Linked DNA regions of Homo sapiens: regions 2, 3 and 4 are each linked to region 1. The links are contacts of gene promoters, found by promoter capture Hi-C in human tissues and cell types (Jung and others, 2019). All regions are on one chromosome and are shown on one strand. Each heading gives the region's core, a stretch centred on a gene start or on the middle of the fragment in contact. The rest is flanking DNA. Distances are from core to core; before and after follow the strand shown. Region 1 holds the start of TMEM30B (transmembrane protein 30B). Region 2 has its middle 5.6 kb from the start of LINC00644. Region 3 overlaps SIX4 (SIX homeobox 4). Region 4 overlaps MNAT1 (MNAT1 component of CDK activating kinase).

The links. The method cuts DNA at HindIII sites, captures the fragments that hold promoters and counts their contacts. A contact is called where the count stands out against the background at its distance.
Region 2: a contact is called between a fragment that was not itself captured here and the fragment with the promoter of TMEM30B in region 1, in 1 of the 25 tissues and cell types used here (lymphoblastoid cells).
Region 3: a contact is called between a fragment that was not itself captured here and the fragment with the promoter of TMEM30B in region 1, in 3 of the 25 tissues and cell types used here (lymphoblastoid cells, mesendoderm cells and thymus).
Region 4: a contact is called between a fragment that was not itself captured here and the fragment with the promoter of TMEM30B in region 1, in 2 of the 25 tissues and cell types used here (lymphoblastoid cells and stomach).

The regions. Positions count from the first base shown.
Region 1 is chr14:61,277,860-61,285,799 of GRCh38, forward strand. It overlaps TMEM30B (transmembrane protein 30B), which reads right to left and starts at 3,479. Exons shown (of 1, transcript NM_001017970.3): 1 at 1-3,479. The coding sequence starts at 3,288. The coding sequence ends at 2,233. It also overlaps a transcript of PRKCH not described here. RefSeq lists an enhancer at 1,941-2,904. The HindIII fragment of the contact is 14,970 bases long and covers 1-7,159 here.
Region 2 is chr14:62,141,566-62,149,505 of GRCh38, forward strand. No RefSeq gene overlaps it. Among named protein-coding and RNA genes, the nearest start is that of LINC00644, 5.6 kb to the left of the region's middle. The HindIII fragment of the contact is 4,608 bases long and covers 1,676-6,283 here.
Region 3 is chr14:60,706,937-60,714,876 of GRCh38, forward strand. SIX4 (SIX homeobox 4) reads right to left here. Exons shown (of 3, transcript NM_017420.5): 3 at 2,603-7,267. The coding sequence ends at 6,471. Among named protein-coding and RNA genes, the nearest start is that of SIX4, 13 kb to the right of the region's middle. The HindIII fragment of the contact is 6,478 bases long and covers 308-6,785 here.
Region 4 is chr14:60,761,731-60,769,670 of GRCh38, forward strand. All of the region lies in intron 1 of MNAT1 (MNAT1 component of CDK activating kinase), which reads left to right. Among named protein-coding and RNA genes, the nearest start is that of MNAT1, 31 kb to the left of the region's middle. The HindIII fragment of the contact is 7,906 bases long and covers 1-7,418 here.

The sequences.
Region 1 (7,940 bases), core at 2,229-4,728:
ACTATAAAAGATGGTTTTCTTGCTGCAATGTAAATCTGCTATTAAGAAATTAGCAAAGTGGCTGGTGGTGTTTGTGCCTTTAAGATCATCGTTCAAAAGAATTCAGCAAACTCGATAACAAAGGTAAGACAAACATAACCTTTATTCTCTCTCAAAAACCCAGAGAACAGGGCCTGGAACCATATTCGTTAATTTAACCAGAATCAGAATACTTTAACTTTCATAGTCTCATTTAAAATTTTATAGCAATATACTGACCATTCTAAAAATAACAAAATACATGTTGCTCTCAACTACATAGTTAAAAAAGGTAGTAAATTCTCTTACCCAAAATAGAGGAGGGGTGGGCTAGTGAGCTGCTCAAACATTTGTAACAAATAAAAATGTATCTATATACATATAATGATCATGTTTTCATAGCCTAAAATCACCATACAAAATCTAATAATAAAATTGTGTCGTGTTCAGGAGTTGGGAAGCCAACACATTAAATTAACAAAGTATTTTTGGTATATGTAAATAATGGGATAGAATCTCTCGAATCAGGATTGTCCCAGAAGTTCTAAGGCAGATGTCAATGACATGCACATTGTCCATGTTCAGTAATTTTCAAAGACTAGAATAAACTATGTAAACTATTCAATACAATTCAATATTACTTAACTGCTAAAAAGTACTTCAAGATCTTGCACTGCCTTGAGTGAGTATAATCAAGTTAGTAATTGGAAAATAGCTGTAATAGCAGGCACTGAAGAATTCTGACAAATACCAAATAACTGTTTGTTTTTACCAAATAAACTGGTAAGATGATATCACAAAGGGTTTTAAGTTATTTTGCTATACAAGGTTTTTAAAAATAAACTATTGCTTCTTAGAATAACTTTAAACATACTGATTGATGTTAATCAATAAAATCAATGGAATGATTTTAGTTGAGTGTAAACTTCATCTCAAAGGTTCAAATAATCTTAAGAATCTAGTTTACATATAAGACTATATATGCTTTAACATTGATTCAAATATGATTACTAGAAATCAATAGATTTCATTTGAAAAGATAAAAAAAATTTTTTTTCCAGGTCCAAGGGAAAAGGTATGAATGAAGCCCTTTCTAATCACACACACACACACACACACACACACACACACACACAATGACAAAGAACACTGAGCTAGGAGACATAGATGTGACTTTAGGGAACTTACTTTCCCTCGAAGATCTCTTCCAGCTATCTGATTCTACGTTAAAGCATTTCCTCTGAACTGTACAAACTGGCCTCACATTTTCGAGTTTCTACACAGTACCTGGCAAAGTTTGCCTGTTGGCTTTTACACCAAAATACTAAAATATCAAATGAATCACATAAACCCTGTCCTACAACTCTGTATGCCAACTAGTTTTCCCCAGATAGTAATTTTTTAAAAATTCATTCCACAAATCATCAAGAGCTTCCTACGTTCAAGGCAGAGTGCCAGACCAAACCTGGAACATCATGGTTGTCACTGCCCCTGGGAACAAATTACTATCCGAAAAAGTGAATTCAGTTGACTGCTTCAGGCCCAACCTGGTTCAGGGTCGTGATTCCCAAATTTGAGGGAATATGGGACTCTCCAGTGGAGTTTGTTAAAACACAGCTTCGAGGATCTCATCCCAGCCTTACTGTGTCTGAATCTCTGTTTGGTGTCTCCTAATCTACCTGCATATTTAACAAGCATGTTCTCCCTCACGCCTCCACGTCTCTGCAGGTAATTTGTGGGCCTCACTCTCCATTCCAGCCCACTCTCCCCGACCAAAGAAAAGAAAACCACTGTACTGTAGTGGCGAAAGCCCTGGACTCAAGATTCAGGAGTCACTTGCAGCTGCCTGATCTTTGTTACTTCACATTGCTAGGTCTCTCAATCTCTTCCTCTAATAGGGGTTTAATAGGAGTCTCCATAGGGATCCCTTCCACTCTCAGACTTGAAGAACCTCACATGGCAACTCAGTGTCGTGAAGGAGGTGGGAAGAGTTTGCAAGGATGTTTCACTCTGCAGTCAACATCCCTCCCCGCGGCAAGACAGTCTAGCAGCCCCCCAAGAGCAAGGGGGGTAATTCCCTTATCTGGTCCCCTCATTCACAAAGGGAGGAAAAGCTAGGCGAGGTTGGAATTGGGTGACGGGCGAGGAGGAGATGCCAAAAGCACCTTGCAAGAGTTTTGGCAAGAAGCAGGAGGGATCCCTGGAAAGCCGGAATCACTCCTCGTCGTCGTCGTCCTGGTCCTGGTAGCGAATGTAGACGACCAGCATGACAAAGCCGGTGAGGATGCAGAGGGAGCCGACGACCAGGTAGGCGATGCCCAGGAAGGGGTTCTTGCCACCCATCCACGAGATGCTGCTGAAGATGAGGAGCTTGTGGCCGCCGAACGCGCGCACCGGGTAGTTGTAGGTGATGTTGACGCGGTAGGCGCCCCGCGGCAGCCCGGCCGAGTAGTTGCCCTGGCGGATGCGCGCGTACAGTTTGCGGAACGTGGGCAGCGCCGCCGTGCGCATCCACACCACGAAGTCCTGATTGATGAAGCCGGTGTTGTTGGGGTCGGGGCTGAGCTCGTAGACTGGCCGGCGCCAGTTGGGCGGGGGCGCCGTGCCCTGGAAGGCCAACGCCAGGCTGCCGTTGACCAGCGGCGGGTTGCGGAACTTGACGTGGTAGTCGGTCCACCAGGCGATGCCGGAGCGGTCGAGCGGCACCTCGACGTAGGGCCCGCCGGGCTGGCGCTGGTGCCAAAGCGAGAAGGAGTCGTTGAAGAGGCTGTTGGCGATGGCGCCGCAGGGCGCGATGGGCAGGCCGGCCGCGCTGCGCTGGTAGGGGGCGCACTCGTTGACAGGGTGGCGCAGCGCGCTGGGGAGTCCGCTCAGCTGCGCGTCGTCGCGGGACACGCCGTAGCGCCGGTTGTTCTGGTAGAAGTTGGTCAGCTCGTAGTAGAGGTACACTGGGCCCTGGAAGAGCTCGGGCAGCGAGAAGTACCAGGCGCACGAGCAGGGGGGCGGCAGCGCCCGGCCCTGGCCAGCCGCGGCGCACACCGAGCAGTTACCGGTGCCCGGGTCGCCTGTATAGTCGTACTCCAGCTCCTTGATGCCGTTGGAGGAGTAGTAGAGGCCCAGGCCCAGGCCGATGAAGGCCAGGCCCGCGCAGAAGAAGAGCGGCAGCGCGATGCTGGCCGACAGCAGCGGCTGCCAGGCGGGGAGGCGCTGCTGAGTGAAGGCGGTGTTGTCGGGCTGGTGGGCGCCCCGGGCCGTGGCGCTCCAGGTCATGGCGGCCGCGCGGGGACCGACGCGCGGGCTGACCGAGTGGGGGCCCCGCCGCGGGGCGCCTCCCTCTCCGCGCCGCGCAAGCCCGGGGACTGCTCGCGGGTCGGGTTTCCCGCCAGCTCAGGTGGGTTTTTGCCCGGGCCCCTCCTCTGCCTCCGTCACAGGTGAGTTTAGTTCCAGGCCCTACGAGCAGTGCCCACACCCTCCCAGTTCCGCCTCCGCCCAGGTGCGCTGCACCCCCGCGGGTCACCGGGAGCCGCACCTCGCCCGCCCCTTCCGAGGTGAGCAGGTGGGTGTTTTTTACCTCACCTGGTAGACTCAGTCTCGCGTTTCCTCTCAGTCCAGGTCATCGGACTCCACCTCCTCTCCTAGGTGAGTGGCGGCCCCGGGCTGCCTCTGAGTGGCTCCTACCTGGCTCAGGTACCACCTTCTCTTCCGCCTTCCAAGTGACTAGAGTTCCTGGGCCAGTCTCCCGAAATCAAAAGGCGCTCCGGCCTCCAGCAGAAATTTTTGCTGAGGGCTTGCACCGTGGTCCTGGAGGCTTGAAGATTTCAGATCCTTAATCCTCTGTTATTTGCGGGGAAAAGGTGGCTCTAGACCATTTTGTCTTTTAGGTTAGCTTCACAAACCGCTTTCGCCCAGCTTTCAGTCTCAAGTTGGGAGTGTCCAGGGAATTACGTTATGATAAATCTGTTTCGAATTCAACGCCTGCGTTCAAATTTTAGCTTTTTTTTTTTTTTTTTTTTTTTTTTTTTTTAAGGGAAAATGATTTTCTGGCCAGATCACCCAGTCTGGCTGTATAACTAGGAAATGTGGAAAGTTCTCTAAAAATAAAATCATCCTTAAAAAGAATCAAAGGCTGGAGAGGTTCAGAGCCTTTAAATAACTCTTAGCTGGTGTGGAGAAACCAAGAAAGGAAAAAATGTGCTGGACTACATGTGATTTCGTTTTCTTTTCAGATTATTTGCCTGACTAGAGAAAGGCCCAATCCAAGGTCCCAGGAGACCTAGCTGCTATCCACAAAAACATCTGGAGTGTCTGGCCTAAGGAAGTAAACTACAAGGATTTATAGGATTTATTATAAAAAGAACTCAAATTAGCTCCCTATGTTGCCTGGGATTCTGGCTTTTTTTTTTTTTTTTTTAAATCTAGGTTGGTAAAACATATACAAGGGGGTATTGGGACGTTCTGATTTCTTACTAAATCTAAATCTTCCCTAGGTATTGTGTTCTTGCTTCTCCTCCAGCTTGTAAAATGCAAGTAATACAAATGTTTTCTCTATTACACTACACCTAGCATAATATATTATATTCAGGAGTCATTCAAAACCCATTGAACTTGGAAAGTTAAAATCCTTATTAAATTTAACAGAGGAATGTTGTTAGCATCTTCCAAGTGTTCAGTCCTATGCTAATTAGACAAAAAAGGACCTTTGACCTCAAGGCATTTGCAGTTTGATAGGGGACATATTAGGAGTAAGAAACAATCAAAATAGCCAATAATAGCTATGAATCATAGGGTGTAATCAAGTATCAAATTGCATTCTACAAGTCACATTAAAATTAAAAAGTAATATTGATTTAATAATGGAACATTGATTCCAGTTTGTTAAATGAATGCAAGTTGGAAACCAGGTATTATAGAAGACTGAGGGAAATTCAAGTGACTTGAATTTCAATTCCCTCACTTCTTATCATACCCAAAGAGAGGAAGTTCCAAAATTCTCAGCAAGTTCCCACAGTGTGATCCAGTCTCCAGTCACCCTTTTTTTCAATAAAAGAATAAATAGTTCTTTGTATCATTATGGTTGAGTTCCACCCACCCGTTTCATTGAATCACTAGTCCACAAAACTCGTCTCTAGGAAGGAATTCAGTTTTCACAACTTTTGTAGATTTTTTTTTTTTTGAGAGAGAGGTGTCTCCCTCAGTTGTCCAGGCTTGTCTCAAACTCTTGAGCCCAAGAGATCCTTCTGCCTCAGCCTCCCAAATTGTTGGGATTATAGGTGTGAGCCATCACACCAAGCCTATCTGGTAAATCTTAAGTCTTTTTTCTAGTAGATCACCACCACACCCCTAAAAGGGCAAGCCCCATTCTTGAGCTCAGAGCCTTTCCTCCTTTTCTCCTATTCCTGGATGGCCTAAAGGTACTAGTTTATTCATTCCACTAATTAAGGTGACAGATTTTCAAAGTCAAAAGAGAATATTTCAAGACAAGGAATGGTCAGCAGAGTTAAACACAGCTGAGGGTTCAAGTGAGATAAATGAAAAGGAATTATGGGGTTTGACTTTTGTGGGAACACTTTGGGTGGTTTGTGTGGCAGGAATGAGGTTACCATCAGGTGCAGGGAAAGGGAAGCAGATAGCAAGATAGGAAGACACTCTTTTTTTATTTTTATTTTTATTTTTTGGAGATGAGGTCTTGCTGGGCATGGTGGCTCATGCCTATAATTCAAGCACTTCGGGAGGCCAAGGCAGGAGGATCACTTGAGCCCAGCAGTTTGAGACTAGCCTGGGCAATATAACGAGATCTTGTTTCTACAAAAAATAAAAACAAATTATCTGGGTGTGGTGGCATGTGCCTGAGGTCCCAGCTACTCAAGAGGCTGAGGTGGGAGGATAGCTTTAACCAGGGAGTTATGATTGCGCCACTGTACTCCAGCCTGGACAACAGAACAAGACCCTGTCTCAAAAAATAAAAATAAAATAAAAAAAGAGAGAATGGGGTTCTAAAGGGGAAAGCCTGTTTTTAGAAATGTGTGGAAAGGGAAGGAGAAAGGCAAGTGATAACTGTCTAGAAGAGCATGTATCCTAAAGGAAAGGCTTCTTTTTTAGATGTCAGAGAAGTGTGTATCCTGAGGGAAAAAGATAATAGTGCAGATGAGGTTGAAAAGAGGGGTGGCAAGCTTACTGATAGTGCAAAGGCAGGAGCAGGCTGGAGACGCTGATCCACCAGCCAGAGCCACTGGTTTCAGAGAACAGGTGCAGAGTTATCTCACCTCTGAAACAAGAGGGCAGGGTGATAAAAATGCCCTCTGCAGAATGCAGCTGGGTATTGGGCTCCCGCACCTCAGGCTGGGAGAAAGAAATGACTGAGTGTGACCAGCATATGGTGGTTTTCAGGGCAGATGAATTTGAAAGATAAAAAATTCAAGGTATTGCAGTCCTTGTGGAGGGGTGGCTAAAGAGATGTGCCTTAGTAGTTAATCTGAAAGGCGAAGAAAATGAAACCAACCCTGTGGATCAAAAGAAAAAGAAGATACTGGTAGATTGGCAGTCCTAATAATGTTAATTGGCAGGTGCCGTGAAAGCTGGGAGGAAAAAGTGCTGGTATGAGATGGGGTGTTAAAGATCTTGGAGGTGAAGCTGTACCAAGGTCCATGTATACACTATATTTCCCCTACCAGCTCGTAAGTTCCGAGAGGTGGAAGACTGATATAGATATACATTGTCGTGTTCCTCAGAGTTCACTATGTAAGGAAGGTTCAGATCTCATTTCTCTCATTTTATTACATATGTTGTGATGTATTAAAGGATGCTTGGATCATGTAAACTCTTTAGTACCAGTAAAATAAGAAACAAGTTCACTCTAAAATTGTTTTTTGTATCAGTGTTATTAAGAACTCAAAGGAAAAGAAAAAAGGCATTTCTAGTCCAAATACTGCTAAAATCACTTCATTTTTTCATTTTATCTCCCAGACTTTATCCATGTAAATATTTAATTTTTAATAGATTGTAATTAAGATATACACACAATTATTCTAGTTGTCAAATTACCTCATTTTGGAATGAGATGAAGATTGAAATAAATATTTTCTATGTTCCTTAATGGTGCCATAATTCATAGGTCTATCATATTTAACTATTGTTGGACATGTAGGTTATATCCAGTTTTTCAGTATTCCAAAGTATATGATAGTGACCATCTTTTCTGCATATAACCCTTTTTAAAAAAAACTATGTGTCTCCCTTTCCCCCTAACGTTTTCTTTCAGATTTTTTTCCTTGGGATAAAATTCTAAAAGTAGGAAAGGGACTTAAAGGTGAAGCTCTTTAAAAATACATACTGCTGGAGTCATATTTACACTGCCACACCAATGTATATATTTTGATACTTTCACCAAAAATTTGCCAACAAAACCAAGAGCTAAGCACAGAATATATTTAGTCTATGCCAATAAACTCTCAGATACTAGGAGAATAGTATTGGATAGGGGAAAGAATGCTGGCCGGACCTTAAGGAAGTTCAGATTCTACCCTGAAAGTTCCTTAGGATATAACTGTGTGACCTTGGTCAAATTGCTTAACTTCTCTGTTCTCATGATTGCTTATCTGTACGAACGTGTTTACCAAAATGATTGTTAGTGTGTCTTTTTTAAGCAAAGATTTCTGTTCCTAGTCTTCCTTACAATGACTCATTGAATAATAGCTAACTTTTATTGAGTACCTTCTGTGAATCAGTACTTACAGTCACTGCGTAAACACTTTATATACATTGTCCCATCTAATTTGTACACAAATGGGGGGCATTCAGTCCAATTATACTCAAAGAACTGATGCAAAACTAAGATTCAAGCCAGTGCAATGGAGGCTGCCTGAGTTCTCATAGTTGTAATGGGGAGATGAGGGATTCAAAGGGCAGCTTAATTCCAGTGTCCT
Region 2 (7,940 bases), core at 2,730-5,229, 860 kb after region 1:
TTTTTCTTTTTCGATCCCAGTGTCTAGAACTGTATGACCAGCAATTTAAACGCTCCATTCATTTTTGGTCCAATTCTAATGTCATTTTTTTTTCCATTAAATGTCTTGTACTCTTCCAACTGGATATACTCTTTTTTTCATTTGGGCCCTTATAGCATTTTGTATCTCTCTCTCTCTCTTTTTCATTGTCTGCCTTGTGTTGAATTATTTCATTACATACCTCTCCTCTCCCCTAGACTATATGGCCCTTGGATATGGAGGCCACATATTATCTTGATCTTTCCTGATAATTTGTCTTTAATTCATTCAGCCAGTGCTATGCTGAATGAACAAAAATTAAAATAGCTACCATTTGTTCAGCATTTACTATATGTGAGGTTTTGTAAGTGTTTAATTGACTTCTCACCAACCATAAAAGTTACATTTTATTATTTTCAAATTTATAGTGAAGAAAACTGAGGTACAAAGAATTTAAGAAACTAGTCCAGCGCTGTCCAGCTGGTCGGTGGTAGAGCCAAAATTAGAACTCCTGTAGCCTGACTGCTGAGCCTTCACTGTGAGACAGTGTATTGTTGTGCTTAGGAAAATGGTTTTTGAGTAAGATGGACCCAGCTTCAAGCCTTAATACCACTACCTATACCTGTAGGACTTTGGGAAAGTTCCTGTCTAAGCTTCTTTAACCCTTTTCCTGTTTTCCTTGAGACGACTTGCCGGTGGCTGCAGCGTTTACTCCAAGATAACTTTGCCACAAAATATCTCGCTTTTATTATTATTTTCACATCGCTCTACTATATCAACTTTGGAAACAAGAGACACCATTCTATTGATAGCATTCTGTTTTTAGTAGTGGTATTTTCGTTTACAAAAATGTAATAATTCTCCATCGCTGAAAATGTCAAATCCTAGAAAACGTAGCATTCCTACAACGAGCAGTTGTTGGCCAATGATTCATTTGATGAATTTGATTTTTCTGAAACGGATGATTCTGATGTTAGTTCTGTTTAGAAGTAACCCCAAGAACAGTTTTTATATTTTATTTTCACATTGAAAATCAGTCGGATTGGCTTTAGCCTCAAAGAATGTGTTTATGTAAAATTAAATGAGTGCTGGTAGCGAGCTGCATTTTTTTTTCTAAATGGAAAAAGCATTAAACTTTGGTTTTCTCGTCTCTAAAACAGGGGAAACAATTTCACCTAAGTCTTAGGTTTACTAAGAGAAGCACCAATTATCTCATGTACAGCATTTAATACTATGCCCAAGTTAAGGATCAAACTCAAAAAATTTTAGCTGAGTAAAATAAATAACAATGCAAGATTAAAATGTCAATCCATTAATCTGATTAAGAAAATTTCTGTTACTGACTTAGAAATAATGAGAAACCTTTAGTTTTCCAGTTATTCTAGGTTCCTCATTCATTCAAAAATAGCTTGGTATAAAATGGTTCCAGACAAGTAATTCTGATGCTTCTCATGAGACTTCTCAAAGCTTGAGGTATTTATTCTTTATAAAAGATGCTCTGTTCTAAGCCAATGTGTATGTATTAATTAGATGGTGGAGACTTCAAAATAAGAGGAGGTATTTCTTTTTTTTCCTGCCAAGAACATGCTAAGGAAACCTAACGTATATACACATACACACCACAAATGAACTGAGAGTGACTGACGCGGGGGGCATAAAGGAAAGCATTGCCAGGACATTCTCACTGTTTATTTTCCAGGCCATGTTCCTATTAGCTAAGTGATGCCCACAACACAGGCAATACAGCCTTCCCAAGCACAAACAGTTTTTCCAACAAAGAACTCCAATCACAGAGAGGAGTCTGACTCAATACTTGCCAGACGCCTGAGTAAGGGCTGTTCCCTAAGCTTGGCAGTGTTTTCAAACACACTCAAGGGCCAGATGGCTATTGGTCTGATTCACAGGAATGTGGTATAGTTACCAATAATGTGTCCAATTTTTAATTCCCACGCAGATAGTTCATCTTGAGGGGAGATTAAACATAGCTAGATAAGATGGCAGTGAACCAGAACTTCAAAGCTATGTGTTATTGAGAGGTTGCAGTTTGAACTAGTTGTAGAGAAGTTTCTTCTGTAGCCTTTAGAATTACAGATTTGTAGCATGTGATAGCCAGAGAGAATGTTGGAGGCCATCTCACGTAGCATTCTCCTTTTATAGAGAGAACAGAACCCAAGAGGTTATGTGATTCAAGATGGAAATCTGGGGTAGAAGCCGGAAATCTCAACTCCTCCCCAGTTCTGAACATTTTTCAGTAATTATGATAACATGTTCAGCAGTTGTTTCAGTAGCCTTATAACATAATCATTAACAAATTCTAGAGAATAAAGGAGTTAAGCTTCAATATTATTCTAGTCATGTTTCACAGCCCTGTTATTCTTTGTTGCCATAACTGGTTTTGTCTGTCCCCTCCTCTACTCTGTGACGTCCCCAGGAGAATGAGTGTCTTTTGTTTTTCTCTTTATCCTCATGAACTAAATAAATGTTTCTTGAATGAATAAATGAATAGATATAGACCTGTCTGTGAAATTCCCTTTACAGGGCACTTCACACATAGTAAAACTCAGGTAAACTCATACTTACTTACTAGGATGATAATGAAAGTAAGTCCATGGAACAAAACACACACTTCCTATTCACTGGCAATAAAAGAGAATTTATATTGCGAATGAACAGTTAATAACTAAATGAAACTACCAAGTAGAAGACGTGTTAAATAAATGGAGACGCTAAAATGGAGCACAATGACAAATGCATGTGGTGCTGAAGAAGGTGCTTTCAGGACGATAAAAAGATCCAATTTCTAACCTCTGTAGGCACCATCATGGAGCAACACAACAGCTGTTATTATTTTAGTCTTGCATTGTTATTTACTCAGAGCAAATCTTCAAACAAGTAAATAAAAGAAATATTATGCTAAAATCAAATTAGTAAAAGAGGTAGGGATATTATATGCTAATTTCAAGTATATTGCAAGAGATCATATTAATAGATGGAAGAATTAGTACTGAGACAGACTGCTTTTATCCATAGCCAGGAAAGGCTTCAAAGAAAAGATGGAGTTTTAGGTGAAATCCATTAAACTGAAAACAGCAAACTGATGGATTGCTCAACCTTACATCGAAAGGCAGTGATAAGTAAATATAAAATTTGGGGTTCTTAATTTTGAACCCAGAGCTCAGTTCACTGAGTATTGTACATTGAAGCTACAGTTTAGCACATTAAAAAAGCAATATATTGATAAGGATTCTTCTTACTACATGTGACCGAAACACAACTAGTTTAGGCAAAAGGAGAAAAGCATTAGCCAGAGATAATTCTGGATATTTAGAGAGACACTGTTTGATTAAGAGAACTCCTTTCTCTCCAATGCCTGGCTCTGGCAACTAAAGACTATTGTTTCTACTTATGCTCTTTTAGAAAGTTTGTTTTGAAAGTCAACGTTGGACAATTTCTTTGTTGTTCTTGGCTGTATCTTTCCTTCCTCTGAAGTGCTGGATGCCTCAGCTTCCATGTATGAAACAAGAATTTTAGAAAATGAAAATACATCTGGTAATATTTCAGAAATATTATCTTATTATGTTGATTTGTGGCAGACTTGGGTTTCTGCTGACATTTGCAAGCCCAAATGGAATAGGAACACTCTGCTAGCAGTAATTAATATTACTTATAAGATATGAATATTTTCAGTGACTTCAACATAAATTAATAGTGCATTTAAACTACTAAATCTTTATCCTCTTCCACCTGATTCCAGTGGAGGTTGAATTTATCTGTATTTTCCCTTCAGGCATACGAAGCAATTGCCAACTTTAAGAGTTTTTAGGTAGTGGGCAATTTCAACAATTTCCTAGCAGATTTTTGCAGGTCTACAGTGTAGGGTAGAAACTTCTGGGTTGAAATATACATGTCAATAATCCCTTGACTGACCCCCTACTTTCTACTATGATGTCCACTGTAAAGGCACACACTGTCTCCCTATGAACCACTGTTCCCCTCACTACACACAAACTCAAAATAGCTTTAAACCTAAGCTGCACCTTATCTATTGCCAGTTTCTGGGATAATTTTCTATTTTCTAAGACAAATGGAGCTGAAGTGATGTTGACATCTATTTTGCCACCTGAAACTTAACTAACCCATCATCATCCCTTTCTTATTCCTTTGCTTGCCTTCTGATTGGGGTCTTTATAGTCCTATCTGAGTACTGTCTCCACGTCCCAACCCTTATTTTCTCCTTCCTCATTAGTACCTCTTTTTCAACATTCGTTTGGATACTGAAACTTCCAGAAAACAACAGGACAAGATATCAGCATTTGGGTGGGGAGGTGGCAAACAGTTTTACTTTGTATTACTGGAGATAGAGTACCAATATATAAAAATCCTGTGGGTGGGAGCAAAAAGAAGAACAGCCCGAATACTCCAATGGTTCACCAAATCAGATAGTCAAATAGCAGGAATAGGATTAATGATTTCACTGAAATCCAGCAGAGCCATAATAGCAGAATATCTCTAAACCCTGGAAATCAAGTTAGATGCTAATATATCATTATACCCTCCAATTGTAGTAAGCTGTGTTAGAGCTAAGCCATAACCCCTGTGTGTTGGCAAACATTGGGACTAGATAGATCTTTTCTCTTTCCACGAGGAGTAAACTGAAAAATAATAACAGACTTCAACAACAGCTGGGATGTTGCTCAACATGTAAAATTATGTTGGAATACAAGAGATATTACATAATTGTTAAAATTCAGAGGAATGACAGTCTCTTCAAATGATGAATTCCTGGTGTCAGAAAAAAGTTTAGAAAAAGTTAGTGTCCACAGTAACATATGTGACGATATGGCATCTATAAAATAGGAATGAAAAGCTATAAAAAGCGAAAAAGTTACAGAGAAAAGATGACCAGATGAGCTCAAAAGCCACTATTTCAAGGTGAAGCTGAAGCTGAATGCAATGAAAAAAGATTACACAGCAATTAAAAATACAAAACAGAATTAAAATCAACATCAGAAACAGCAGAAGGTTAATATAAAATCAGTAACAGAGAGTAGCAATATGAAAGCAAATTTAATGACTTCTTCCATAATGCAGAGGCAAAAATTAATTAGAGTTTTAAATATCATGAAAAAGAATATTTACAGAGGCCATGCAGTGGAGAAAAATGTTTAAAGTGTAAAGATTTATGAAGGATAAACAATTGTCACAGAAGAGATACTAAAAGAAATCACTGAAGAAAATACTTCTCAGCATACAGATTAAAGGCTCACTGTGTTTGAGGAAAAGTTGACAAATTACCAAGCCACCACTACAAGGACTTCTAAAAGGAGCTCTAAATCTTGAAACAAATCCTGGAAACACATCAAACAGAACCTCTTTAAAGCAAAAATCACACAGGACCTATAAAACAAAAATACAAGTTAAAAAAAAAACAAAAAAAATCAGTGTACACAGGCAACAAAGAACATGATGAAAGCAATGGTACCTGCAAATAATCTCACTAAGAAACAAAAGGGGAGATATTACAACTGACCCCATTGAAATACAAAAGATCATTCAAGGCTACCATGAACACCTTTATGCACATAAACTAGAATATCTAGAAGAGATGGATAAATTCTTGGAAAAATACAACCTTCCTAGCTTAATTCAGGAAGAATGAGATACCACGAACAGACCAATAACAAGCAGTGAGATTGAAATGGTAATTTAAAAATTACCAACACAAAAAAGTCCAGGACCAGATGGATTCACAGCAGAATTCTACCAGACATTCAAAGAAGAATTGGTACCAATCCTTTTGACACTATTCCACAAGATAGAGAAAGAAGAAACCCTCCCTAATTCATTCTATGAAGCCACCCTAATACCCAAACCAGGAAAGGACACAACCAAAAAATAAAACTACAGACCGATATCCTTGATGAATGTAGATGCTAAAATCCTTAACAAAATACTAGCTAACCAAACCCAACAAGATAATATCAAAAAGATCATCCACCATGATCGAGTGGATTTCATACCAGGAATGCAGGGATGGTTTAACATATGCAAGTCAATAAATGTGATATACCACATAAACAGAATCAAAAGCAAAAATCACATTATCATCTCAATAGATGCAGAAAAAGCATTTGACAAAATCCAGTGTTGCTTGATGATTAAAACTCTCAGCAAAATCGGCATACAAGGGACATATCTTAAGGTAATAAAAACCATCTATTAAAAACCACAGCCAACATAATACTGCATGGAGAAAAGTTGAAAGCATTCCCTCTGAGAGCTGAACGAGACAAGGATGCCCACTCTCACCACTCCTCTTCAACATAGTACTGGAACTCCTAGCCAGAGCAATCAGACAAGAGAAAGAAATAAAGGGCATCCAAATTGGTAAAGAGGAAGTCAAACTATCACTGTTTGCTGACAATATGATTGTTTACCTTGAAAACTCTAAGGACTCCTCTAGAAAGCTCCTAGAACTGATAAAAGAATTCAGCAAAGTTTCCAGATACAAGATCAATGTACACAAATCACTAGCTCCTCTATACACCAACAGCAACCAAGCAGAGACCAAATCAAGAACTCAACCCGTTTTACAATAGTTGTAAAAAAAGTACTTAGGACTATACCTAACAAAGGAGTCAAAAGACCTCTGCAAGGAAAACTACAAAACACTACTGAAAGAAACCATAGATGACACAAACAAATGGAAACACATCTCATGCTCATGGATGGGTAGAATCAATATTGTGAAAATGACCATACTGCTAAAGCAGTCTACAAATTCAATGCAGTCCCTGTCAGAATGCCATCATCATTCTTCACAGAATTAGAAAAAAACAATTCTAAAATTCATATGGAACCAAAAAAGAGCTCACATAGCCAAAGCAAGACTAAGCAAAAAGAACAAATCTGGAGGCATCACACTACCTGATTTCAAACTATACCATAAGGCCATAATCATCAAAACAGCATGGTACTGGTATAAAAATAGGCACATAGACCAATGGAACAGAATAGAGAACCCAGAAATAAATCCAGTGCTTACAGCCAACTGATCTTCGACAAAGCAAACAAAAGCATAAAGTGGGGAAAGGGAACCCTTTTCAACAAATGGTTCTGGGATAGTTGACTAGCCACACATAGGAGAATGAAACTGGATCCTCATCTCTCACCTTATACAAAAATCAACTCAAGATAGATTAAGGACTTAAACCGAAGACCTGAAACTACAAAAATTCTACAAGATAACATTGGAAAAACCCTTGTAGACATTGGCTTCGGCAAGGATTTCATGACCAAGAACCCAAAAGCAAATGCAATAAAAACCAAGATAAATAGCCAGGGCCTAATTAAACTAAAGAGCTTTTGCACAGCAAAAGGAACAGTCAGAATAACCCAGGAATAACAGGAATAACCCACAGAGTGGGAGAAAATCTTCACAATCTATACATCTGACAAAAGACTAATATCCAGAATCTACAACGAACTCAAATTAGTAAGAAAAAAAAACAAACAATCCCATCAAAAAGTGGGCTAAGAACATGAATAGACAATTCTCAAAAGAAGATATACATATGGCCAACAAGCATATGAAAATAATGCTCAACATCACTAACGATGAGAGAAATGCAAATCAAAACCACAATGTGATACCACCTTACTTCTGCGAGAATGGTCATAATCAAAAAATCAAAAAACAGTAGATGCTGGCATGGATGTGGTGAATAGGGAACACTTCTACACTGCTGGTGGGAATGTAAACTAGTACAGCCACTATGGAAAACGGTGTGGAGATTCCTTAAAGAACTAAAAGTGGAATTACCATTTCATCCAGCAATCTTACTACTGGGTATCTGTCCAGAGGAAAAGAAGTCATTATTTGAAAAAGATATTTGCACACGCATGTTTATAGCAGCACAGTT
Region 3 (7,940 bases), core at 2,297-4,796, 570 kb before region 1:
GTATAAATCCCTGTCTAATCACAGAATGGGCTATGCACAATTCTACTTGTGAAAGTAAGACAAGGCTTCCTGAAGATGTGACATTGAGTGAGTCTTGGGGATTGGGTCGTTATGAAGGAATCTGGTTCCTTTGGCGAACAGTTTTATGTGGCTAGAGATGTGAGTAGGCAGAGAGGCAGGGCCTGGATCTTGGAGACTTCTTATGGTAAAGGGTTTAAACGGTATTTCATAGGCAATGAAGAGCCATGGAAGGTTTTAAAGTGGAAAACGAGGCTGGGTTAAGTCTTGAATTCTGGAAGTTCCATTTGGATGTAGTTGTAATGTGGCCAAAATCAGGACCAGACACTAGGATACCAGGTAGGAAGCAGTTGCAATAATTCAGTAGAGAAATGGTAAGTGCCTAAACTGTAGGAGTAACCTTAGTAATGGAGAAGAAGAAACTGAATCAAAAGACTGTAAAAGAGCAGACTTGGATAGACTTGTGATCTGATAAAGGTAGGGAGAAGAAAGGGAGACAAGACTCCAGAGTGAATCCCAGATTTTTGTCTGGCCATCTGGGTGAATACATGTTGCTGAAATGAACAACACAGAGTTGGGGCAGGCTTAGGGAGATGAGAGTTTAATTTTCCACATGTAGAATCTTAGGTGGACTGGGACATTTTGAAAATATCTATTAGGGAGCTGGATCTACCAGGGGACAGGTTCAGGCTGTGACAATCATCTTCAGTAGCAGTAAGTGGCTTTGGCTAACAGCAGGCAGCAGAATAGACACAAGTCTTGGAGAGCACAAAATTCTGGAGACAGTTGGAGGGCAAACTGCCCTAGGTGCAGTTCAAGAGCTCCTGAAGTATCTCCTGTCTGACAGCTCAGGGCAACATGGTAATAGTTTCCTAGTTCCGGCTCTCCTGCCTCCTGCAACTCCATTTCCCAGATTAGCCATGGCAACATTTTAAAGTGTAAATCATGTTATATTACTCCTTGCTTACAAGCCATGAGTGGCTTCTCAGACTCAAATTCAAACTATTTGAGACCAATAAAGCTCTACCTTTGATCTGCCCTTGCCTACCTCTCTGGCTAGATTTATCGCATGACCCCTGGAGTTAGCGCCGTAATCCAGACACTCTGTCCCTCCCTCAGGGCCTTTGTACCTGCTGTTCCCTATGTCTGGAATGCTCTTTTCTAGGTCTTGCTGGCTGGCTTCCTCCTTATTCAATTACCTCTGCTGAAATGTTACTTCCTTAGAGAACTTCCTTGATCAATCTAATGTATGTCTCCCACCCTAACATTTCATATTATCAATTTCATTACTCCTTGTTGTCAACTTTATAACACTGACCGTTATCTGAATGTGTCTTGTTTATTTATTTACTATCTACTGTATTGGAAATGGTGATATGCAAAGGTAAATTTTCATTTATTGCTTTTTTTTTTTTTGATACAGGAATTTGCTGTCACCCAGGTTGCAGTACAGTTGCACCACCCTAGCTCACTGGAGCTTCCTGGGCTCAAGTGATCCTTCCGCCTCCTTCTGCCTCTTCCTCCCAAAGTGCTGAGATTACAGGCCTAAGTCACTGTGCTTGGCCCATTTATTGTTTCTTAAGGGCAAGTGAACAAGTGGGGTGGAACCATATAGCTGAAGGCCTTGAATTCCCATTGAGGGTTTTTATTTAATTTGCTAGTTTCTGAGGAGCCACAAATGTTTTACGTACAGCAATGATCTTGTCCAATTTTTAAAAATATTTGTTTAATGTTCTAAAATGTAACCACTTCATTGGCTGGAGTGGTTGAACTCATTGAAACTCTGTTCATGTTAACTGGTTTACTTACATATAAAATTGTTAAATAAATGAGTGGAATATCAAGAATATAAAAGTCTAGATATAATATCTGAATTTAATTTGATGGCTTTAACTAGTTTTACAGAATTGTACAGTTGGTTTCCAATCTATTTTATTAACCTCCCCTTCTTTTCAGTGTAGAAGCATAGAAAACCAGGTTATGTAATTTTAAAATTAGGACCAAACTGTACGAAGGCCAAATTTTCTATATAGTTAGCAGCAACGCAGTTCTACTTGTTACTTTCAGTGAAACTATTGGTGCACCCAACCGTGGTGGTACCAGACTTTGGCTAATGGCAGTGCCCTAGGGATGGGTGATATTGAACTCTTTCAATAAGGTTGAAAATAGGAGGTCTTTGGACCCTTCAATTTAATTCCATTAAACCCTACAGAGTAACTGCCGTGTGCCAAACATCACACTCATCTCTAGGGACAAAAAAACAAAAAACAAAAAACAAAAAATGCTGGGAAGGGGAAGGTACACTTCTTCCTTTTAAGGAGGATGCAATCTAATAATTTACCTCTATGTAGTACAGTTAATTGCATAATTCTGCACAACGACTGACAAAGATTATTTTTCCAAAATCACTCCAATTGGCCTTATAACCATTTGCCAGCTTTTGGAATGTTTGTTTTTTCCCTTCCTCTTCTTCCCTTTTCCAGAGATAAATAAAACCAACATTATTTCTTTTTTCTTTTCTAGTAAGATGAGTCATTCATATTTAAAAAAACACAATATTTCCCAAATAATTTTCAATGCAAGGTATGTATAAATATAAAGTTTATTTAGCATAGTGTTTAGAAAAATAAGTTCACATCATTTCAGAAAACAAATAAAACACTTAATTGTCCAGGCATAAACCCCCATTACAGTACGACATACATACTTCAGATCTCTTTGGTTGGGTAATTAAGCACAGAAATGTTCTGGGACATGCTCTGTGTGCCATCACCTAACAGTGCAGTAAAGACTCTGTTACCCCACCCCATGATATACATTCTGTATAGAGTTTCTCTTTGTGTAAGGCACAGTAAAACCATATTGAGTATATAATTGGTTGCCTCTAAACATACAGTACATGCAACAAAATAATATTTTTGAGAACTCTGAAAGCCAAAAGAGTCACATGCTATACAATTTTGATTAATAAAATGTATGGTGGTAAATTAACATAAAATGTATCAATTAGATACAAAGTAACTGCTAGGCTCTATTATCTAAGTTTTACAAAGAGTTTAAAATATCTTTTGTGAAATGTAACTATTTCCCCATAGTTTTCCTGAATTATTTTTATTATGAGATGATCTGTCAAAACATTTTAAAGAATGAAGAACTTGTGGCTATGTACTAAAGCACACTTGTCTAGCATGTAGCAGGGCAGGCTGCCACACATGCCCAATAATCCAACTTTTAACATGCAAGATACAAGGGCATACACAGAGAGATTTAAGGTCAGTGTGCAATTTAACTATGGATTTTTACCTATGGCTATAATATCTACCTGCCTTTCATAACACAAGAAAGGCACTGAAACGTGTACAATTTAAAAAGTCTTTTCATTACTATAAATATACATGAGATATAAAGCAGTACAACACAGGTGCTCTTGCTTGATTGAGGAACAAATGCACCTTCTCTTTAAACAATAGACTGTCCTTTACTAGATTTAACTAAGAGCTAAATGCCAAATTCTGGCTGATAGAGTGCATAGATAGGCTTACACCAAAAATCCCACAGCCAGCAGCATGGGTTGGGTTTTGCAGGGAGTCATTTACCCCTGTTTTGATCTTCAGGGATCATTAGAGGGTCATTTGCAGCATTTTCAAGCATTGGTTTATGTAAGAGGGAAATTCTGCCACATGACTCCAAGGGTTCTGAGTCTGGCCCTTGGTATGGCAAAAGACATTTGCAATTCTGTGCAAGGAGATCATGGGGTTTATCTTACTCCATTCACATATACATGGGCTGCATACCAACTGGCCCTTATTCAACTGAAAGAATAGAAAAGAACAATAAGTTCTTTATACTGTGCATTGATTCTTACCTGGTATATTGTGTAGCTACCTGAAGTAATTGTAGGGTTATAATTACATCATGGTGGGAATATGAATGGGTTTCCTAGGTAAGTCTTAAGTTTTGTGCTATCTTTTCTTTTTCATAAGGGAGAAAAGAGGAAGAACACTGAATAAAAGAGAGGCTTATTGTATTTTCGGAAAACATATAAAACATTTCCAGTTATATATATATATATAGCATATATAACTAAAAACCTCCCCATCTCTCTTGTTGGATGGGTATTTGAAAATAACAAACTCTTGATATCTGCAGCAATCAAGTGGAAAACATCATTTTTATGTAAACTACACTGCAGAGCCATGTAATTAATCTCAGTAACAGGATCAGCACACACCCAAAGAAAAAACAAGCTCTATGAGTAGTAGTAGAGTGGAAAAGAACTCTCAAACACCTGACTTTGTAAAACAAAACAAAAAACATGTAGCTTCAGCAGTTTAGGAACATTCACCAATTCTATCAAAAATGATGTAGTTCTTTATCAAAATGATGGGAGAGGAATTCTTCATAGGGTTCTTGATATATGCCTGCAAGTTCCATTTATGATAACAAAAGTTAAATCCTCTATGTCCCTTATTCAACATGCTTGATTGATTGACATGTAGAGAACTAGAGTGGGCCCTTTGTTCTGATCATAAAAAAAAAAGCAAGATGTGGCCAGGCACAGTGGCTCATGCCTATAATCCCAGCACTTTGGGAGGCCGAGGCGGGCAGATCACGAGGTCAGGAGATCAAGACCATCCTGGCTAACACGGTGAAACCCCGTCTCTACTAAAAATACAAAAATTTAGCCGGGCATGGTGGCAGGTGCCTGTAGTCCCAGCTACTCGGGAGGCTGAGGCAGGAGAATGGCGTGAACCCAGGAGGCAGAGCTTGCAGTGAGCCAAGATCGTGCCACTGCACTCCAGCCTGGGCAACAGAGCGAGACTCCATCTCAAAAAAAAAAAAAAAGCAAGATGTGCTAACATCTAACACCTTTATGTTCAACAACTTGAAGTTATCTCTGAAGAAATTATTTTCTCACTTTTTTTGCTTTTCAGAGACTAGAGAGCAACTTTACTCACTACATAAATTTATTTGCATTGTTACATCTTGTGTTCAGAGTCTTGATAAAACTATAGCCACGGCTTACAACATTATTAAACAAGCTTCTTACAGAAACCAAAAATATTTACTTTTAAAGAAGACATGATAATATAGTGCAAACAACAGTCATGTGTCAGAGTGTAACAACTGATTCAAAACCTTTAGAACTAAGTTTCAACAGGACAGAATTTTGCTCAATAGAATTTACATATTTTCTTTCCTTTAAAATGGTTTTCATAGCCTGTATAATCAATTTGACATGGTATTTATAACTTATTTTCCTTGTAATGAAAAGTATCAACAATAATTAGTTGTTTATCCATTTGTGTGATAAATGTCATATATATTATTTAGTGAAACTTAAGTTCTTCAGATTTAAAGCAATTTTGTGGTGAAATTAACCCTGTTAGATAGTAGAAAAGAACCATCAGTGCTTCTGTTGACACTTCTGTACCTTACTACCAATAAAAAGGCCACGAGGTAAAAAGGCACATAGAATTCTATAAAAAACATATTTAAATGAATCAGAGTTGCTAAATAAAGAACAAGGATGTGAAAAAAAGTACCAAAATTCCAATATTGGGAGTTAGATTTCCTGTTTCAGTGTTATTAATATTGACCTTAATAGATTCCTGGTAAAAATCATTATTTTTAAAATCCTACAAAAAGTAAAACTTTGTTGGAAACGACTATGTTCACTTCCTGTTCAAACAATAAAAATAAATTAAACAGTAAGAAAACATATTTTTCAGTTCATAGCGCCTGAAGAGAAACATATACATTAAAAATAAAATTCACTGTAATTACTCAAATCCTGCTTATAGAACTGATATATTTACATTTATACTGAAGTTTCAGAGTTTTTAGTGGAGTTCCGCACTTTCTCAGCCACACTGAGCTATTAGAAATCACATTTGGAAATGTGTTGAGACAAATGTGTTTGAGACCCAAGACTTTCTCAAAAAATGCTGAAAAAGAGGTGTGTGTGCATATATATATGCATGCTACTTAACTTTAAAAATATGTACCATTTATGTTTCTTAACCTTTTCAATGCCCATGGAGTAAAAGTAAACAAAAACAATTGTATTATTTCTAATGGTCTGCAGCTATCTTTAATTTTCTATGTTAGGTGTATACATTTTTTAATTTAAAAAACTATCAAGTTCCATTTTGACCTTAGAATTATAGAGTCAACTAAATGATTCACTTTGACTTGATACATTTCACCTTGTCCTTTGTCTCCATCTATTTAAAAGAGAAATTTATAAGTGAACAAAAAGGCTGCAATAATGCAGTTCTACTCCTGTATACTTAACTGTGATCTTCATGCAGATCAATCTAAAGTCTCTTGTATGCATATACTTGCAAAACTAGAGTGTTTTCCTTTAAATGGGAAAATGTTTTGTGTCCTTGGGGCTTCATGAAAAGATTTGCCGCTGATGCCAAAAAGAGGTGAGGAGGAAATAAAGTTCATAAGTCTTGCATATCTTCATCCAGCTGGACAGTCTGGAGCTTGGCAAGCTCTTTTTTGTCTGTTTCCAGGTCTTCACAGACAGTATCAACCATGCCATCTAAGACATACTTGGATTTAGAGTCCAGCATCATTAAGCTACTTGTTGCTTTGCTCTCAGAATTTGATAAGAAATTCTCTTTCATGTTAGCTACCGATTGCAGAACCAAACGATGTTCTTGGACAAAATCCTGATGTACTGCTGGGGAGGGGTGACCTACCTGATCTTCAGCTGTAGGAACTATTTCCCCAAGGGCAGCCTGAGTCATAGGGACTGACAATAGGTCTTGACCAGTAATAAGGGAGCAGTTCTGAAGAGTTGCATAGTTAGTGTTGCTGACAGATGTCACAGTAGATTTGCTTGCCACCGGTGCAGACATTGGTTGGCTATCGGCAATGTCGCGGTTTAGCTCAGTGGGATTTAGTAGTGTAGAGGGACTGAGAGAAAAATTGTGAGTTGGAGATACATTAACTAATGAGGAGGCCAGTGGATGCAGGCCACTCCCCGAGATGTTTTCAGAAGACAGGTTTGCATTTACTTGTGCATTCTGATTGACAGGCATCAACTGAGAAAATACCAGGCTCCTTTCCAAGCCTTCCTGTTTCACAGATCCTATAGTCTGGCCTGTATTAGGAACCGTGTATACCACTGCACTGGGAGCAAGAGAGCTCAAGAAAACCTTTCCTTGCTGGACTGTGGTAGACTCACTTGTAAATGTGCTTCCATCTGAAGTGCTTGAGCTTACTGAGATATTACCTAAAAAAAATAAAGTACTGATTATCACTGATGGAAGTGAGAGGGAAAGAAAAAAAGTTACACACACGTTTTTTTCTCAGGTACAGTATCTATAAAGAAGCAACACTTCCATACAATCATTTAGCCCAATTCTGGTTCAGAATTACCTTGGGCACCTAAAACTACAGATTCCCAGGCTCTACTCCTTGAAAGTGTAACTTAGTACATCTTAGAACATCTGTTTTTACCTCTCCAAGTAAATATATATATAGATATATTTTGTATGGAGACATCTTTTATGTTTAACCCCAACAACAACACAGCCAAAAAAACTACTTGCGTTCCTGAGTCGCAGGTGTGCCTGTGTTCCCCATCTTTCATCAGCTTCTTAGAAAACACAGTGACTTCCAAACCTTTACTTTTTATGTCTCATGACCTCGAACGGTCTTGAGGATAGAACATGTCAAAGGTTCTGTTGCTTATTATTTCTTTTTTTTTTTTTCAGATGGAGTCTCACTCTGTCACCAGGCTGGAGTGCAGTGGAGCGATCTCGGCTCATTGCAACCTCTGCCTCCTGGGTTCAAGTGATTCTCCTGCCTCAGCCTCCCAAGTAGCTGTGACTATAGGCATGCGCCACCACATCCAGCTAATTTTTGTATTTTTAGTAGAGACGGGGTTTCACCATGTTGGCCAG
Region 4 (7,940 bases), core at 2,216-4,715, 520 kb before region 1:
GCCAAACATATTCATAGTTACAGAATGATCTTATCTTTTGCCCTAGTAATTAGGTTTCTTTCCTTATCAAGTGTAACACTAATTAAATGTGTTATGAGCTGCTTTCCCTTTCTTATATCTTGTTTTGTAAATAATGGTTTTGTTTAAATGTGTTATTTAGTTATTTAACCTATTTTGTGTGGTTTGACAGTTTTTAGCATATATAAATTAATGTCCCGGCTGTAAGTGGGATCAAACTATCTAGATCTGTGAACTGGTACGTTCTAATTCTAGTGCTTTATACATTGCAACATTAAAAAATCAGATATTCATTTTTTCTTTTTCCCATGTTTTACTGATTCTATTTTTCTTCAAGTTTCTTCCTTCTTTTCCTATTACATCAATCATCTGCTCTTTTAACACAGCAAATTGCTGCTTTGATTTGAGTCAGTGACTTGAAGTTTGGGACACCATAATCATCTCTCTTTGTTTAGAAATCTCATCCCAAAATCTCAGGAGGAAAAAACCCTAAAGAATTATTTGATGTATTTATTGCTTTCTGGGCAAGACTCAGCTTCATGAAAAAATTTTTAGGGAATTCTTTTCTGTAATATCTTATGATGGATTATAGGTGGTTTCAAATAGATTATCAGGAGAGTGAATGATGGGAAGTATGTAAAGACACTGTGGCCAGGCACAGTGGCTCACACCTGTAATCCCAGCAATTTAGGAGGTGGAGGTGGGAGGATCACCTGAGGTTAGGAGTTCGAGACCAGCCTGGCCCACTAATGTCATCTCTACTAAATGACATCTCTACTAAATGTCATCTCTACTAAAAATACAAAAATTAGCCAGGCATGGTGGTGGATGCCTGTAATTCCAGCTACCCGGGAGGCTGAGGCAGGAGAATCGCTTGAACTTGGGAGGCGGAGGCTGCAGTGAGCAGAGATCACACCTCTGCACTCCATTCTGGGCAACAGAGCGAGACTCTGTCTCAAAAAAAAAAAAAAAAAAAAGACATTGTGTGGTAAAATGATTATGATATTCTTTTTTTTTCCTTCCCTTACATTATGGTATTTTGTCAGTAATTTTTCTATATGCTAAACCAAAAACTAAATTGTGACTACCACTTGGCCGGAAATTTTTACTGAGCTCAGTGGTAAATTTATATAAACAAAATAAAGAAAACATAATTTCTTGTAGCTCAGTTTGCAGTTTGGTTTATCAGTTGTTGTACAGAGATAGCTTATTATCATGTATGGACTTTAAAGCCAAAAGGAACCTTATAAATCATCTAGTACAACTTCTTAATTTTAATAGATAAAAGAATATATTTTTCTTTTAAAGCTGTTTCAGCATTGAAACACTGCAGATTCATACCTGGCTTTTTCTCCAGTTAAACTAAATTAGGGAAGTTAAGAAAAAAGTCATGCGTAGGGAGTTAATTTACACAATTTTCATTGGTGCTAATGGAAATTTCTTACTGAGATTCAAAATGATCACACTTATCTTTATCATTTATCTTTAATTAATTTATAGATGAAATGGCCATTGCTGCATTGCTGGTTAGGACTTTTTAATAAATGCAGCAGCTACAACCTATATCATTTTAAATGAATAATTAAAGTGGAGTGGTTTATTATTTTCCAGCATAGGTACATATAATAATTCCTTTGAATCATATGCTCTTTATGCTGGAAGAGATCTCAGAGAATATCTAGTCCATATTTTTATTTTATAGATGAATAAAATAGGGTACAGAGTGATTAAGTGACTTGTCTAATTTTCCCTGACTAAAGCATTTTATGTATTGGACTCCATTGTAATTTAGTAAGGTTAGAGACCTTAATGTTCTTTCAGTTCAATTTTCACTCGGTTAAATCCCAGTTTATGAATGTGCTGTGTGTATCGTCTGCCTTCCTACTCTAGTGTAAGTCATCAAGCAGTGAAAACTCAGAATTTTTGGTGAGTAATAATTGAGCACAATTATTTCTCTAAACCTATCATTATCTTTAATTTGGAACTACAATGACCAGGAAGCAGTGTTAGTCTAAGCATAATTTAATAAATCCATATTAATCCACCTGGCGGAGTATAACATTTTAACATACCTTTTAGATCCACAGTGATGGAAAAATGATTAAATTACTTATTGTCAAAACAAAGGGCTGCTTTAGATATGGTTATTTAATAAACTGTTTTGCTTCATGTAAACTAGTTTTGCTTAAGCTTCAGAGATATAGTCACATGGATTTATCTTTCCATGACAATTGCTTACTGTCTGGGTTTATGTTTAATGCAGGTATTGGTGACAGTTTGTAATTCTTGAGTCATTGCCTAGCATGGAAAATAGTTGATTTTGCTAGCTATACACAGTACTGTCTTTTAATGATCACTTTTTAATGCGGTTAAGCCTGACTTAATTGTTCTCTTTTTAGAGTGTTATGTAATATTTGTTAGTGGTATGATATATCTGTTAAACTACTTATATATGTAAAGTGAAAAGTTTATGTGTACATGTTATTTTCTGCAATAATGTTGAAGCTCAAAAATAAAAGGGGTTATATACTTATGTACTTAAAATACATAATCCTGGTGTAGCCCTCTTTTTCTGGAAGATCAATGCCATTTTTCTTCAGTACATTCTTTCTTTTCTCTTGTTTATGATTTTGTGTCTGCTATACCAGTGACTGTTTTTGTCTATCAGATAGTGAAGCTAATTGTCTTAAAGCTTATCACAAACAGCCAGAAGTTAATGGGCTATTTGGGTTGGAACCCATACTTTTGGTCCCTTGTTTTACCTTAAGTATGAAGAAGACATTAAAGCATTAGAGTTGAATTGAAGAAAGTAGGGAAGATTTGAGACAGATTTAGATGGTAAATTGAGAGGATTTGGTGATTCTGTGGCTGTGAGGGTAAGAAGAAGCGGTCTAAGATAATTCTCACATTCTGGATTTTGATGCCCAAGTGAAGAATGTAATTTTCAAGATTCAGTGAAATCTCTTCTGGAACAAGGCAAGGAATGTGTATACGTAAATAAATAGGCAAATAAATAAATTAGCAAATGGTAGTAGCTGAAATGGTAGGTCTTTGGAGTCTGGCCTGATTATAAAAGGAAGTGTAAGTAGGAGTAAGCTGTAATTAGGAGAAAAAGGAAATATAAAGGATTGGAGATCTGGATGAGATCAAAGGGGCAGTGTGTATAATGAGGGACTGAGAGCTCCCAGTTCAGAAGGTTGTGACCAGAGTTTGGAATATAGGCCAGGCGCGGTTGCTCATGCTTGTAATCCCAGCACTTTGGGAGGCTGAGGCGGGTGGATCACCTGAGGTCAGGAGTTCGAGACCAGCCCGGCCAACATGGTGAAACCCCCGTTTCTACTAAAAATACAAAAATTAGCTGGGCTTGCGGCGCATGCCTGTAATTCCAGCTACTTGGGAGGCTGAGACATGAGAATCACTTGAACCTGGGAGGCGGAGGTTGCAGTGAGCCAAGATCGTGCCACTGCACTCCAGCTTGGGCAAGTGAGCCAAGATCGTGCCACTGCACTCCAGCTTGGGCAACAGAGACTCCATCTCAAACAAACGTCTCACTCATAAGTGGGAGTTGAATAATGAGAACACATGGACACAGGGAGGGAAACATCACACACTGGGGCCTGTCGGTGGGTTGGGGGCTAGTTGAGGGATAGCATTAGGAGAAATACCTGATGTAGATGACAGGTTGATGGGTGCAGCAAACCACCATGGCATGTGTATACTTATGTAACAAACCTGCACGTTCTGCACATGTATCCCAGAACTTAAAGTATAATTTAAAAAATTAAAAACAAAGTTTGGAATATAACTAAACAGTCTGATGCTATGTCTAGTGCTGGAGAAGCTAGTGACAAGAAAGCTGTATAACACACACAAAACATGTTTGGAAAATTAAAAAACAATAGAGCTTTCATAAGATTAAAATAATCATTGGAAAACAGAGGCCTACCCAGACTAGATTATTGATGATGGCTTCTATTTATGGTTAGACTGAATATAAAAATCTTATACCTCTAGGCAATCTAAGACATACAGTACTGTGTTAAAAATTTTGAGCTTTTATTTGTCATATGGTTGTGACTCTAGCAGAGGTTGGATATATTCTTTATTAAAGTGTAGAATCCTCAAAATCTGCCTCTATAAATTTAAAACCTATAATCTTAGAAATATATAAAATCTTGACTTATAAAATTAAATGTATAACTTAAAAATGATTAATTCTTTTAAAATGAAAATTTTAACTTTCTAATTTCTCTTTTAAGTGATTTTTAAGAAGATGATTTAGATAATGTAAAAGGATTGCATCTGTTAAATAACAAACTCCACTGGGTGCAGTGGCTTACACCTGTAATCTCAGCACTTTGGAGGCCTAGGCGGGTAGATCACAAGGTCAGGAGTTTGAGACCGGCTTGGCCAAGGTGGTGAAACCCTGTCTCTACTAAAAATACAAAAATTAGCCAGGCTTGGTGGTGGGCGCCCATAATCCCAGCTACTTGGGAGGCGTAGACAGAGAATTGCTTGAACCCGGGAGGCGGAGGTTATAATGAGTTGAGATAAAGCCACTGCACTCCAGCCTGGGTGACAGAGCGAGACTCTGTCAAAAAAAAAAAAAGAAAAAAAAGAAATACAAATTACTCCCCCTTACTCCTTTTTTGGGTATTCGTCTTGTTTTAAAAATCTTTTTGTGGCCTGGCGTGGTGGCTCAGGCCTGTAATCCCAGCACTTTGGGAGGCCAAGGCCGGTGGATCATGACGTCAGGAGATCGAGACCATCCTGGCCAACATGGTGAAACTCCATTTCTATTAAAAATACAAAAATTAGCTGGGTGTGGTGGCGCATGCCTGTAATCCCAGCTACTCGGGAGGCTGAGGCACGAGAATTGCTTGAACCCGGGAGGCAGAGGTTGCAGTGAGCTGATCGCGCCACTGCACTCCAGCCTGGCGACAGAGCAAGACTCCGTCTCAAAAAAAACAAAAATCTTTTTGAGAAACTTTTAGATATGGGACAATTAATGAATATCTAATACTATTCATTGTATGACTAGATTTCATTTTGGGGAGGCTTATTAATATAATTTAATTATTTTGAACAACAAGATGAATTGGGTAGGTGTTTGTTAGAACTTCAAATACATTATAGTTGAAAACTTGAAACAGTAATACAAATGCAAGAATAAATATTCTTTTAGAAATAGGAAATGGTTTCAGATAATATGGAGAAAATATAAGGAAACAATTCAATAATAAAAACTATTGTTTGTAAGTAAATCAAGTTTGAGAGTTTCTGCTTTAATAAGTTGTTAAGGTTTGGATTCAGAGATCTGTTTCTCTTATAGTAAACATTTTTAATATAGGAACAGCTCAGGGAAATGGTTTCCATATGCTTCTTGAGGTGTTAACAATACACTTTTGGATTGGAAATGCAATATAAACCTAAACTACATTCTGGAAGGCAAAGTGGAGGAGCATTTCAATGGTAATATGTACAAGAAACCCTTGTGCTTTGTAGATTTGTGACTTATGGTTTTGTGAGTTCCTGGAACATTCAGGTTACTCTGCAAACCTGTAGTCTAACATACCTTGCTTTGTCTGGCCAGCTTACTGCCTTAGTCTGGCTCAGTATTTCTTTTTACTACAGTTTGTCCATCTGGGATCTTTTTTGGATACTCTACACTTGTGGGGAGAATTGAGGCCAGTTTTGGGGCCTATTTTAAGGGACTTAAGATACATAGAGGATGGCTGAAGAAAGTAAATAAAATCCAAGTGGTAATTATATCTGTGAGACCCTTCCGGGTTTTCTAATTGATCTTGGAGGCAAGAACAGTTCAGTTTTTTTTTTAATTTAAATTTAAATTTTATTTATTTATTTATTTTGAGACGGAGACTTGCTCTGTTGCCCAGGCAAGAGTGCAATGGTGTGATCTTGGCTCATCGCAACCTCTGCCTGCTAGGTTCAAGTGATTCTTCTGCCTCAGCCTCCTGAGTAGCTGGGATTACAGGCGCATGCCACCACACTTGGCTATTTTTTTTGTTTGTTTTGAGATGGAGTCTCACTCTGTCGCCAGGCTGGAGAGTAGTGGCACAATCTCAGCTCACTGCAACCTCCGCTCCCTGGTTCAAGTGATTCCCTTGCCTCAGCCTCCCAAGTAGCTGGGACTATAGGCACACGCCACCACACCCAGCTAATTTTTTTTGTGTTTTAGTAGAGACGGGGTTTCACCATGTTGGTCAGATTGGTCTCGATCTCCTGAACTTATGATCTGCCTGCCTCGGCCTCCCAAAGTGCTGGGATTACAGGCGTGAGCCACCATGACTGGCCTTATTTTTTGTATTTTTAGTACAGTCAGTGTTTCGCCACATTGGCCAGGATGGTTTCGAACTCCTGACCTCAGGTGATCCACCTGCTTCGACCTCCCAAAGTGCTGGGTTTATAGGCGTGAGCCACCGCGCCTGGCCCAGTTTAGTTTTTTGAATTATGGCTAACTTCATTCCTGCTTGAGGTTGAGTGTATAATATTATTGTATTACTCATTTATTAAGAGCTCCGGAATGTGTCTGCTCATAAATAGGTGGTTGTCTTCAATAGTATTTGCAATTTTGAAGAGTTACATGTTTAATAACTTTCTCCCTGGTTGACTTTTAAAGGTCTTGGTTGACTTCTTAAAAGTTTTGTTTTGGTTTTAAATGATATGTTCTACAGAAACACAAGGACAAATTACAAAGGTTTTAGGAGTTATATCTCTGAACAGGATTTTTCTAACCTTTCTTTCAGGTAATATCAAAATCTTTCAAATGGAGGTGGAGAAGAGGGAGATGAGAATAACCTGGGAGGGTTTTAAAAATTACTACTACTTATACAGAAATGTTTACTGTGTCCTAGGCATAATGCTGAATGCTCTTTATTCGTTATCTCATTTAATCTTTATAATAACTCTAATTGGTAGGTATTGTAAATATCCACTTTTTATGGATGAGGGAATTGAGGCTTAGAGATTCTAAGTAACTTGCCTAAGGAAACAAACTAGTAAATGGCTCAGCCTAGATTCAGCTAGGCCTCATTGATGACAAACCTTTGCTTCTGAATCACCATGCCATAATACACTTTGTATAAACCCTTTTTGTTTTTCTCCTTTATATCAGAATGTGGATGATGGCAACGCTATGTGCATTTTCAAAAAGTTACCCTACTCCTAAGATTATAATGTTGAGTTTACATTTTTAAGTTATTTTTTTGCATACAAAAAGTGTATATATAATATGTATAGTTTAATGAATAATGAAAACAAATCAAATGCTTGTGCACTAACCCCCTGGGTTGAGAAATAGGGTATTACTGGTAAGTTTGAACCCTCTATCTTTTTTCTATTATATTTTCTCCTCCTCCCATAGAAATGACTACTTCTTTGAATTTTGTCATTCTTTTTCTTTTCTTCATAGATTGGCCAGATATTGTTGGATCTCTAAACAGTATACTATTTAGTTGTGGATTCTATATAAGTGTATACATTATATATTTGTGTTCTTTTTTAAGATATATTTTAAAAAATTTGAAACAGGATCTTGCTGTTACCCAGGGTAGAGTGCAGTGGGACAACATAACTCACTGCAACTTTGTTCTCCTGGGCTCAAGTGATCTTCCTGCCTCAGCCTCCCATGTAGCTGGGACCACAGGCATATGCCATCAGGCCTGGCCAATTTTTTTATTTTATTTTATTTTTTTTCAGATATGGCGGTCTAACTTTGTTGCACAGGCTGATCTTGAACTCCTGGGCTCAAGTGAGCCTTCTGCTTTGACCTCCCTAAGTGTTGCGATTATAGGTGTGAGCCACTGCACCTGGCTAAGAATTATTTTACTGTGGTAAAAAACACACAACATGAAATTTACCATTTTAACTGCTTTAAAAATTAAAAAAAAAATTTGTTTTTT